Regions from separate parts of the Homo sapiens genome. Here regions 1 and 3 are each linked to region 2. The links are contacts of gene promoters, found by promoter capture Hi-C in blood cells and fetal thymus (Javierre and others, 2016). All regions are on one chromosome and are shown on one strand. Each heading gives the region's core, a stretch centred on a gene start or on the middle of the fragment in contact. The rest is flanking DNA. Distances are from core to core; before and after follow the strand shown.

What was found. The method cuts DNA at HindIII sites, captures the fragments that hold promoters and counts their contacts. A CHiCAGO score of 5 or more calls a contact.
Region 1: a fragment that was not itself captured here is called in contact with the fragment with the promoter of IFT57 in region 2 in 1 of 17 cell types (fetal thymus); the score reaches 5.0 in fetal thymus.
Region 3: a fragment that was not itself captured here is called in contact with the fragment with the promoter of IFT57 in region 2 in 1 of 17 cell types (fetal thymus); the score reaches 6.1 in fetal thymus.

Annotation. Positions count from the first base shown.
Region 1 is chr3:111,544,129-111,548,212 of GRCh38, forward strand. It overlaps CD96 (CD96 molecule), which reads left to right. Exons shown (of 14, transcript NM_005816.5): 2 at 918-1,274. Among named protein-coding and RNA genes, the nearest start is that of CD96, 4.0 kb to the left of the region's middle. The HindIII fragment of the contact is 3,926 bases long and covers 1-3,523 here.
Region 2 is chr3:108,220,293-108,224,387 of GRCh38, forward strand. IFT57 (intraflagellar transport 57) reads right to left here and starts at 2,132. Exons shown (of 11, transcript NM_018010.4): 1 at 1,819-2,132. The coding sequence starts at 2,030. It overlaps LOC124909405 (a long non-coding RNA gene), which reads left to right and starts at 2,313. Exons shown (of 2, transcript XR_007095999.1): 1 at 2,313-2,394; 2 at 2,654-4,095. RefSeq lists an enhancer at 1,851-2,110 and a silencer at 2,046-2,339. The HindIII fragment of the contact is 9,168 bases long and covers 1-2,682 here.
Region 3 is chr3:111,666,258-111,670,790 of GRCh38, forward strand. No RefSeq gene overlaps it. Among named protein-coding and RNA genes, the nearest start is that of PLCXD2, 6.2 kb to the right of the region's middle. RefSeq lists an enhancer at 1,678-1,727. The HindIII fragment of the contact is 1,694 bases long and covers 1,632-3,325 here.

The sequences.
Region 1 (4,084 bases), core at 311-2,810, 3.3 Mb after region 2:
GACTTTTTTTGTTTTGTTTCGTTTTTCGTTTTTTTGAGATGGAGTCTCACTCTGTTGCCAGGCTGGAGTGCAGTGGCATGATTTCGGCTCACTGTAATCTCCGCCTCCCAGGTTCAAGCGATTCTCCTGCTTCAGCCTCCCAAGTAGCTGGGACTACAGGCGTGCACCACCACGCCCAGCTAATTTTTGTATTTTTAGTAGAGACGGGGTTTTGCCGTGTTGGCCAGGATGGTCTGGTTCTCTTGACCTCATGATCTGCCCACCTCAGCCTCCCAAAGTGCTGGGATTACAGGCGTGAGCCACTGCGCCAGGCCTGGAGGTGTGACTTTGAGCATACTGTTTCATCTCTCTGTGGCCCAGTTTCTTCCTCATAAAAAGGGGTTAACAACATCACCTATGGCGTGTGAGGGGGATTAAACAAGATAAGATATGAAAGGCCCTTGTAAACATGTATTTTTCAAAGAAATTGCTATACACATATCATTTATTTTTGCAGTTTCAGAAAGCATCACGTGTGTATTATATTCAGCTGTCGTTTTATAACCCAAAAAGCCAATTATATTAAACGTAAGAAGAATCGTCATACTAAGTTTGCTGGTGTGCTTCAATTTTCAAATAGGCTTAATTTTATTCACAGGTAGTCTGAAACCTTCAATTATATTTTGGTCAGACCAACACATAGATAAATATTTAGAAGTCAGTAATTACCTCTAGCTTCTCTACGTAAATGCCTCCTCATTTATATTGTCTCATGCATCTCTATCTGAGTGAGACACAAGCTCTACTCTATTCCTAAAGCAGCCAGGGAGAAATTTCCTCAGTTGCTCCCCTCACCTTACTGAAGTGACTAGGGTTTTTAATTAAGCGTCATTCTATGTGAATTATTTAAACTCATGGCTCATGTTCTTTCTTTTCAGGAGTTTGGGAAAAAACAGTCAACACAGAAGAAAATGTTTATGCTACACTTGGCTCTGATGTCAACCTGACCTGCCAAACACAGACAGTAGGCTTCTTCGTGCAGATGCAATGGTCCAAGGTCACCAATAAGATAGACCTGATTGCTGTCTATCATCCCCAATACGGCTTCTACTGTGCCTATGGGAGACCCTGTGAGTCACTTGTGACTTTCACAGAAACTCCTGAGAATGGGTCAAAATGGACTCTGCACTTAAGGAATATGTCTTGTTCAGTCAGTGGAAGGTACGAGTGTATGCTTGTTCTGTATCCAGAGGGCATTCAGACTAAAATCTACAACCTTCTCATTCAGACACACGGTAAGCATAACTGGTAGAGGGATGTGCTTTCATTCAGCTCTCTCTCATTCAACAAATGTACATTTTAAGAAAAGCAAGGTTAGGCTTGGTGCTCAGCATACAAAGGTTGAGCAGAAAGAGCTACTGTCTGATAAGAGAGACAGGAAGTGACCACAGCATTTAAGTAAATAAATGTAAACTTGCAACAGTGATAAGTGTCGATAATAAATACTGTAACAGTCTTGTGAAGGAGCACATCACAGAGGCCATTGAAATTGTCCTTTAGAAATTAACACCATAGCTTAAGTCTAAAGAATGAGTAGACACTACCACAATTTAGGAGGTGGGGCTGAGGCAGAGTGGGATTGTGAGTAATCCCAGAGAGAGAAAAGAGCTTGCATGAAGCTCTTTGGAGTGTTTGAAGAAATGGGAAAATGCCAGTGGGACAGCAATACAGCAATTAAAGGATAAGGCAGGTAAGGACCAGATCATGTTGGACCTGGTCAGCTTCCCTTTTAAAAGGTTTCTATTTTGATCTCAGAACCATAAGAAGACATGGAAGTATTTCCAACAAAAGGATGGCATGACATTTATAGGCTGACTGTATTTGTGTTGTTTAAAAAAAAAAAGTCATACTGACTTTCATGTGAAAATGAGGTGAAGATGGACAAGAAGGAGAAGGTAGAGACAACTCAGGAGACCACCTCAGTAGCCCAGAAAAGAGAGAGTGGTAGTTCAGGTAGATATAGAAGGAAAATGGCAAATTTTGTTCATTGGGCATAAAACAGATATGATCATAGAGAGAATATAAGACAAGGGCAGTATGAAGGAAGGAGAGAAAGAAGTTAAAGGTGACATCTGGGTGTCTGGCATGCACACCTGAATGGTGGTGCTATTCACTGTGATGGAAGGTAAAGGAAGGTTTGTGGGTGAATTTATGAAAGTGATTCTGGGTATACAATATTTAGTCTAGGGCAGGTAAAGGGACAAAGGAAGCTGCTAACTATGAAGCATTCACACCAAACATACTTTGGAGGCCTGCATTTAGAAGTGGGAATCCTAGATTTAAGTTCTAGCTCCTTTCTGAATAGAAATAAAATTTGACTTGGGGCCTGTGGTGTAAATTCTCTGAGCCCATTTGGAAAATGATTATAATAATGCCTGCCCTAAATTACCTGGTCCTAAAGTAAATGATTTTCATTTCTGCTAATGGAAAACAATGAAAGTGAAAGCCAACAGATGCAAAATGCACTGGCAGTGGACTGGTTCTAACTCAGGGCAAAGTGGCCTGGTAATATAAGAAAAAAAAATAACTCGTGAAGGTCATATTAAAGGGGGCATAGAGCTGTCCAGAACAAGCAACAGGTATGGATTTATAGCCTCCTCTCCATGTCTTATAACTTACTTGCTTTAAAAATATGCTGTTGGAACAGTCCACCTATAGGCCAAGGTCCCATCAACTACTATCTTATAATGCCCAATTCCCTTGCTGTTTTCCAGGAGGAAAACACACCACACACACACACACACAGACACATACACACACACACACACACACACACACACTTCAGTTCAATTAAGGATGGAGTGGAGTGGGATTGAAGTAAAGAGAAATGGAAGACCTATATAGAAAACTGTTTAGCTATACATAGTTTGATTCAGGTAGCCTGTATTTGGATATTGGCTCTATCATTTACCATACGTTTCATCATTCCCAAGTTGTTTCAAGTTTCTTACATAACAAATATGGATAATTATAGTGCTTTCTTTACAGGTATCACTAGCTTGGTGATTAAATGAGATAATCTGTGTAATGCACTTAAACATATAGTTCCTGCTAAAGGATAAGAGTTTGGTAAATGGTAGTTTTCAATTAAGAATAGTAATAATTATATTGAGCAAATTCTATTTCTCAGTTCCAATTAAATATGAGCCCTGCTCCTTCTTTTTATATATTGACCTCATTTGGAACCCAGTAAGACATTTGCCATGTAATGTTAGTACAAGTACACATTGACCTTGGTTTCATACATAGTTTTTTTTGTACATTCTGCCTGAACCAGTAAACAATACTATTGCCTCACGGAGGACTCAGTGTTTCCTTCATTGAGACTTGGCAACATGGACTGATGTACCTTATAGGAAATAGAATAAGTGATGCCACAAAATGAAGACAGCAATGGAGAACAGATAGTATATTATCCAGAAAGGAGGATGATGTTGCCTTTAAAGAAATGTATTTCTTAAAATAAAGAGAACCAAGGGAGTTAAGCTTGTAGCTACTAAAAACTGCAGGTCACTGGAGAGGCAGAAACCGTATCTATACTTTTTGCGGTTGGAAAATTTCCGGTCTTCTGAATGTAACTTTGCTGCTGTCATCTGGATCAGATGAAAAGCAATGGCCTCAGTGTTAGAGAAATGGTTCTGGTATTGTGATTTTGGGTACAAAGGGAGTAAAATAGAAAAGAGCAAAACAGAAGGGGGAAACATCCTTCACCACAGAGTGACCACAAATGTAAGCCTGGTACGGAGCTACAGAGTAGGCAGCTGACTAAAGGGAGGCAGTTGCCATCTGAGAGCTCTGTCAAGTTCACAACCAATAGCATATTTTCTTTCTACCCTTTACTGTTTTGATCTTCTCTTGCTTCTTCTCCTCTCACTTGTACAGTTTTCTTCTTATGCCCCTGTGCAATCTTTAAGTTTACAAGCTAGTTGGGTAAGCAAAACACACCTGAAGTGCAAACACTTATATAGTACATAAACAAATGCAAATTGAAGTGGTGCATAAGAACCTAATTTGAAAATGCTGAGGGACTTGAAGTGTTTGAGTT
Region 2 (4,095 bases), core at 882-3,381:
AACATTATAGGAATAAAACTCACTAGCAACAACATTCAAGTCAGTTTAATCAAAGATCTTATTTGTCTTGTTCATGTGTAGCTATCATTATTATGTTTACAATGTATTTACAACTATTATAACCATTGTCATAAAAATCTGTCGTGTACTCCTTCATGTTTCCCAAACTTTTTCCTGCAGGATAAATGTAAATGTTCTGGAAGATAACAGAAAGCTGGGAAGAAAAAAGGCCATGAAGTCCTTCCAGGTATATGCTCACTATCCTTTCAAAGCACCCACCCACCAAAAAGTCATCTTTTCCTTATCGGCAGATAACTCTTCTAGGGCAGAGGAATGAACACCAATAGATACTGTAAACCTAGGACAGTGGTTCCCAAACATTAGTGTCCATCAGAATCATCTGGAAGGCTTACTGAAACAGATGCTAGGCCCCATCCCTATAATTACTGAAAAGGTAGACCTGGGAAAGGGCCTGAGGAATTTCATTTCTAGTAAGTTCCCAGGTGATGCTGATGCTGTTGGTCTGGTGATCACATTTTGAGAACCATTGGACTAGGATATCCCCACACAAATCCATGATTCAAAGTATCCTGCTGAACCCCTGAGGACACAGTGCAAGAGATGACATCAACAGAACCTTAAGGACATTTTGTTTTCATTTTAAAAATATACTTGGAAAAAAATGCATTTTTATTAACATAGGAAATGTTGGTTGTCTATATTATCCTGATCAATTCACTTTAAGTAATAATCCCAGGACTACCTTTTCTAACATGGATCAAGCAACACTACTTTTTCCTTTATCTTTTCTCCGACCATGGACTAATTTAATATGAACAGTTTATATCAAGCCTACATATCTTTCAATTCAAGTTATTGGAAGACAGCAGTGGAATGAGATTAAAACTATCAAGGGAAATTATTTGAGCCTGGCTGTAGACATTAAGTACTATAGATTCTTAATACTGATTGCCTTTTATGGAATAAAATATACAAATGTAAGTATTAAAGTGAAAGAAAAGCTATAAAACTGATTTATCTGGCTACTGCTAAGCTACAGTGATTTGAGGAGAAGGTCCTAGCTGACCACTACCCTCAGCAAGTAATGGCATTGCTTTCAGGATATGTTGGACTTTTCCCCCACCGGAACAAGGGTAAAACTTTAGGTTCTATGATAGGGGGACAATTCAATAGTTGTCATTCGTCTTTTCCACTTTTCAGTTTCTGAGAGTATGGTTATTACAAAGGCAGAAGTCTTTTAAACCATAGCAAGTAGTTAACAAGTTTACTAACCGCATTTAAAGTGCTCCTTAACAGGATCCTAAGTACCCACGGTCCCCAGTTGTATGAACAGGGTCTTAAACAACAACAAAAAACCCCAAACTAGAAAAAAAGCCTTAAGTGATAATGGCATTCCTCTCTGGAGGCGAATTTTGGACGGTCTTATAATTTTTCTAGACATTTACTTGTGTTTTTCTGAGTTTTCTTCAATGAGTATTTGTTTCATCTTTACAATCAGAAAATATAGTTTGTGTTTTCTGGTAATGCGTGTGTGTTGGAAAAAAACAGGCAAGCTGTCTTCCGATCCTTTCTGCCGTTCCAAAACTTATTTATTCTCTCTACAAAAATACCAAGTCAGGGCTGCGTGAGCTCCACGGACCTCCCGGGAGTTTGGGGTGAAGTGCCCTTCCCTGGCTAGGAAGACGGAGGCAAGGAATTGCTAACCCGCTCTCACGAAACTGGTTCCCAGCAGGACCAAGGAGGGCATCTCCCTGGGGGCTAGCAGGCACCCGGGCGCTCGGGGACGCCGGCACCCACCTGGACGGGGCCTTCAGGTTGCTCTTCCGGAGGAACTCCTCCTCGTAGCGGAGCAGCTTCAGCTTCTCCACCAAGTCCTCCATCACCACGAACATGTGGTAGGCCGCGCCGGGCCCCCGCTCCAAGACCACTTCCCCGGTCCCTTCGCCACGGGACCTAGGCACCCCATCTTCCAAACCCGACGTCGTGACGACGGCCAGAGCAGCAGTCATCGCAGAACGGACAGAGTCCAGCGTGGGCTCAGGCCCACAGACCTCTGCGGCCTAAGCCGCCAGCCCTGCCGCCGCCAGTACAGCCACGACCGGTTACCAGGCGACCACCGGACAATCCGTCACCAGGGAAACTAGACTCCGCCTCCTTCCCTCCAATCAGGGCGGCTTTCCTGAATGACGTCACCTGTGGCCCTCTTCTTGCCCTGCCTCTGTGGAAATGGTGGTCGGGAAGCAGCCCCGCCCCTCATGGAGGCGTGGCGTTCGCGCCCCACTGCCGGCTGCGTCTTCTCCCTCGCTGAAAGTCTGAAGGGAGCCGGCTTACGTTTCTGCTCCGCTTGCCTAGTGAGTCTTGAGCTGGCTTGAGGTGTGTTGGACCTGGTGGTTGCTAAAAGCAATTAAGCGGGCATCTGGGTCAGCTAGTAGCTGTTAAAAAGATTAAAGGGAGGTGAAGACGTGTAGCACTGAAGGCTGCACTGGCTCACTGATACCTTTATTTTCTCAGAATTGAAAAGTTTTTCATAGTTGTAAAGATAGTCAATACCATAGGTTTCACTTTTACTGCAGGAACTTTCCAACGAGAGGTTTCTCTCGTTCTTTCTTTAATTTTATCTTTCTCTCACTAGGCAATGCTGCACTTAACAGTATATTGTAAAGCTTGAAGTACTGTATTACGTTGCCTGGCTGTTACTCCAGTGCTAGGAAAGTGGTTGGAAGGATGAGGAAGACAATGAACAAAAGGAGGCATTTGGAAGGATTTGTTTTACTTCAAAAACAAGAATACTAAGCTTCCATCCTGCTGCTTAATCTGTTTCAAACCCATTACATGTAGTATAAAGTGTTTGGGTACTTCGTTAAATCCAACAGAATAGAGATGGTCTTAAAAGGAATTTCCCTGCCCTAAAGCTCTAAGGGTGGCTAAAGATAGGGTGTTACTACTGTATTCTGCAGTTATTGACCTAGAAAATTTAAGAAAAGGTACATAACTGACCACAGAAATGGCCCAGCTTTACAGTTTTCAAAAGGCTTCTGTATTAGGCAATTTTCTTAACAGTTGCAAAAAATGAGGTAAGTGGTGGATGCCTGGCAGTTTTTGGGAAGAAAACTTAGTACAAGAGATTGAACATATGTTCATGTTTATAACGTGACTTTTAAGGGCTCTCTGATCTCTTGTATCTGCCACTACAAAATATAGAAGGGCTACATTTTTGGACAACTGAAATTTGAAATGTATCTACAATATCCTGTTTTTATTAGAAAAAATGAGAACACTTTTCATTGTAATCCGTCTACAGCTAACTTGTTTCTGATACTAATAAGGTTATCAAAGTGAAAAGTCAGAAGGGCAAATACCATTTTTTCATTAAAGAAAGGAAGTACATAAAATTACAGACTTATGTAGAGAATAACCTGAAGGGCAGCCCACTGAGAATTGCTTTTTAAATAAATAACATTGCTTGCCTACCACAAGTCATGAGCCAGCTGCTTTTAATAAAGTTGAGTGAGAAAATTGGATTTGATGTTACCCCACTACCAAATTGATCTTTCCTGGTCTTTGCCTTTTTGAAACAGTGATTCTCCCCGATAAGTCCATACCCCAACCACCACCACATGTGCAGCTTGGGGGTGTTATATGTATGTATAACAGTCACAGTAGTGTAAGATAGATGTATGGCTTTATAAGACTGAAAAATGAAAGCTTAGATATGTTTTGGGGTCCTAAGTTAACTAACAAGCAAACTGGGGCTTTTTACATGACTCTGAAAAAGCTCTCAGACTTTGGAAGTAAATTTATTACACTCAGGGAGGGAGATGTTCCTGCCAGGCATGCTGCCTACTTAAGATGTTCTGACATTTTCAGGAAGTTACGTAACACAGTATGAAATAGTCAAACGTTGCTTTTTAGCTGATAAATCCTCCAGCAACGTATGTATTTTAACTTGGGGGAAACAAAACGACTCCCAGGGTCTTAGCCATTTCCTTCCCAGGTAAAATACTGACACAGCCTGGCCTGAAAGCAGTATACAGAATAATTTCCCCCCTTAATTGTGAAGAAGAAAAAAACCCA
Region 3 (4,533 bases), core at 1,229-3,728, 3.4 Mb after region 2:
AAAATGCCTTGTGGAGCAGAGAATTTGCTAAAGGTGGTGATTGTCACTCAAGTATGGTGAGTTGAGCTTTTCTTTTGACTCACTTCACATCACAGACTAATATATCCACTTTAAATCAATGCTCTTCTTCTAATGATTTTTATTGTGGCATGTCAGTCAGGCCAGGAGAGGTCAGGACCTAAATCTGGGCAGCTTGGCAGATGCCTTAGGCTGAATAGGCCACTGAGTCAGTTTCAAAGTTTAGCCCAGATTGGTAGAATCAGGCAGGCATCATAGGTGCAGAGGAAAAAAAAAAAAAAAACAGATCCAAGGAATCAGTGAAGACTCAAGTAAGTAGACACAGAACACCAGTCTAGACAGGTGAGGAAACTTAGTCTAAAACTCTTGGAGCAAGAACATACCTCAGCAGGCTAAAGATTCATAGGAGTTTGAGACCTGAGTCAGAGGCCTCTTGTCTTCTACTTCCGCTGTGTAAATTTATCAGGCTTTAATATTGTACATTCGGTACCAGAAGGGCAGGATGAGCCCTACAAGTGAAACTTTCTCCTGGTCAACTCAAGAGGAGGGAGTTAAGCTTAGGTGGGAAGCTTTCAGTTCTCTACTCTCTTTAAGAAGACAGTCTAATGGCTCATAATCTTGATTCTTCACCAGCGTTTGCTCCAGGTTGCCTAAGGTTTGGGCAAATAGACACGATTTCAAGCTTTGGTTTCAAATCCACTCATAGTCTTCTACTTTACTAAAGTTGGCTGGGCCATGAGTGAACAGAGCTTTCTTGTGCCTAATTGACTTCTTGGTGCCTTTCTTCCAGACCTAGGACTTTCACATTAGGGGTCACAAGTACCCAAGAATAAAGGCGTGTGCCAGAAGGGACTCGAAGCCACAGGGCAAACATAGCACATCCAGAACATCAATTTTGTGTGTGTGTGTGCATGTGTGTGTGTGTGTGTGTGTGTGTAACAAAATGTGAATGAATTTACAAAAACAAACTATGCAGCTTGAAAGAAATGCCAGGATCAGTGCTTGTCATGCCTGCCATACAGGGCTCTGGGGAGTGTGCATTTACTCAGCTCCATGATTAGGGCACATCTGGCGCAAGAGTTGAGAAGCTTTGCCCTCGGGCCGCACACACATCAATCCTACCACTGTGGAGGTGATGGAGGCACTAAAGGTGACTTCCATCCAGGTCATTCATACTTCCCACTCTGAGAGCTTCATTATGTGTTTTCTGAGCCTGACTGCCTGAGCTAAGCGCATCTCATCCTGGGTGCTGAATGCGGGGAGAGGGTAGAGAAAATGTTGAGGTGTCCCCAGAGGCTAGAACGTGTTACCAGTATAAAGGTACTCCCCAAAACACAATCTCAAGCTTTTGCTGGTAGCCGCATGATTTTAGAATATTAGGTCCATATTTATATAGAAGTTCTGTTAGTCCTGACTACAGCAAATGAAGTCAAAGATTTGAGTGAGGAAAGGCAATAAAAAGGAAAGAAAGGCTTAACTGTGCAAAGACAAAAGGTATCTACAGCAGGCAGAGGGAAAAAAACAGAGTACGGTTGGAAAGACCGTGAAGTTCATGTAGTTCAATCAAGCATCAGGTGCTTCAATTCTATCATGTTACTGTCTTATTGGTGCCAAGCTTGGCTTGGATGCTTCCAGTTATAGGAACTCACTTCCTCCTCTACTTCATTATATTGCTTAACTCTGACTTCTAGAATATTCTCCTTTATACTTGGCTGAAACAGAAAGATGTGTGGCATAAATTTTACTTTCTCTTTTACTTCTGCTACTCAAAGGAAGAGGAAGCTGTGGGTGCAGATGTTGCTAAGATAAACTACAACTTCCTCCATGACCAGTTTCTGCAGTTTAGGAAGGGCAGAGCCGAACACGTGGCTGAGTTGGGGAGTTAACTACAGACACTTAAGCAAATCAGAATCCTTTGAAACAAAATCATCAAAAGGCCAAGAAGCATTTGTAAGGGCTTTTGACTACAACCTAACATTCAGAGAGAGTTGATCAGAGAGAGTTGTTGACACACTAAAAATTCATTACTTTTATTTACATTGAAATTTATTTACTTTATTAAAAAATATTTTTGTTGGTTAAGGTTGTTTGTACAAACTTGTAATTTTAATATTTAAAAAGTTGGAAGAGAATGATAGTATTAGGTAATGATAATATTACTAATTTTTACTCCATGGATGAGGTGGCATCATGCTATTTCCAATTGATAGTGGCACACCAAATTGCAGAGTCATGTTGTTAAAAGAATGCATTCCCAAGATTAGATTGGTTAAATGATAACAAATGCACAGAGGTCATTCTGTTGTGACTGAAGCTCAAGTGATTACTAATATACACATTAATACAACAATGTCTCCTAATAATAGACATAATTCTCATAATTCTAGGAACCTTGGGGTGGGGTGGTAGCCTGGAGAAAAAAAAGGTAAGGGTGGCAGATCAATTGATTTTCCTGCTAGTTGAGATCAACTATCTCTGCCAAAATAGTCTTCCTAATTGCATAAAGTTATATGCAGCATGGATAAGAATTGTTTACTCTGCCATTCTACCTATTTTAACTTTTTTAAAAAAGAGAAATTTGTTGACATTTCAAAGCCTTCATCTCAAACATTTGAGACATAAAAATCCCCTGAGGAGAACATTTTAAAGACAGGAGGAAAAGATGCCATCCCAGAGGATCTGATGCAGGAGGGTTGGCATTTGATCCAGAAATCTGTATATTGCATAAACTCCTAGTTGTTCCTGTTGCTGGTGATCTACAGGCATTTTTAGGAATAATTGACACTGACAGAACATATTATACGTGCCTGAAGTGAGCCTTGAATACCAGTAGGTGGCTCTATAACATCTTAAATCAGGGACTTTGCAGCTAACTAGCTAACTAGCTAGAAAATAAAGGCTCTGAGGCCTTTATTTCCTCTCAATTTCCTTTTCAGGGATTGGAGGTGGCGTGGGAAGGAGAAATGGAAGAGGATGCTGGAATGTGGTGTGGTAGACGGAAATGAATGGATATTAAAATGAATTTTACAATCATCACTTGTTAGTAGCCCTCTCAAAAGTATTATAGTAACGACTACTGTTAAAATAAATTTTCTGAAAGCATACCAGAAAAACTTAATGTCCAATAAACTTAAAAGGCACAGAGGCTCTTAGGGTCTTCCTGAACACCGAGCTTTCAAATCTGGGAGAAACAATCTTATGGCCAGCCATTGCTGCCGTTCACTCTTGTCTCATTACAGAATCCCAGTTGTGGGCCATAAATACCAAGTGGGCATGAGGTAATATAGACAACGCTACTTCCTGCTTAAGCTTCTGCTTCTCTTCTACCCAGTTTCTCAAGGACACACCACCTGGGTATAATCCGGGAATGGTCACAGTAAAAATGACAAAACAATAGTCTCCGGCTCTACCCCAATCAACAAAATAAGTGGATCCCAATCCTCTGTCTTCTGATGTCAGGAATGTGTAAGTTGTATCATGTGTCCACAAGTGTGTGCCTCAGTGTCTCCATTTCCTTGGAGGCTCCTGAAGATCCCCAGTTGCTGCAATGATGTCACTCTTCCTGGAGGTAATTGCTGCTGCTGTCGTCACGTCCCAGCACCACCTATGTTGGTTGCATCTCCTCATTCTCCTCTGATCTTTATCATACAGTCTTTTGGCTTGAGCTGGGTGAAGAAGCTTGGGAAAGACTAGGAATAAACTCTACTGGTACGAGGCCATAAAGCAAAGCAGCTTCTACTCCATCCCATCTTTCGTTTACTTGGCTCCTCATTTCAGTCCCTTATTCCTTTTCCACCCACCCCACTCCCCAGCCAGAAAAAAAAATTGTGTGTGACGCATCACTGTGGAACTCAAAGCATCATATAACCTCACTCTCCTCTAGGCAATATCCCTCGACCAAATACATGTCTGTGTTCTGATTCTGCTTGGGATCTGTTCCTTCCCCATCTCGTACACAGCCTGGGAAGTAAGACAGTCCTGGGGCTTAGCTCTGGGGACCAGGGACAGCCCTGGTCCCAATATCATTAAATCAATATGCTTCCTCCAAGGCTTTTTGGGTGCCTTTAATCAAGTAAAATCAGGCCGGCTTATCCTGCCAACTACACATGTCTGAATGGCAAGCTGTTTTGGTGCTTTATCTGGGATCCTCACTACTCATTTATCACGTGAATCCAAACAAAACAAACCACTTGTAAAGTACAGACATTTCAAACAATAAGGGAGTCTCCAAATAGAGGGCTAAGGTTATAGTCAGCTCTTCAGGAATCCAGCAGGGTCTTTACCATTACATGTCACCTATTATAATTGTAACCCTGGTAAAGGCTGTTTATGAACAAAGCATATTTAAAAGCTTGGAAAATTTTTTATGTTGACAAGAGAGGCCATTGCAGGTTTTTAAGAAGGGAAGCAAAATTATTCACATTGTATTTTGGAAGATAATTATGGCAGAATGGGGAATGGTTGGGGAAATAAGAGTGTAATGGAGAAAAAATTTCCAGAAAACAGATTTGCATA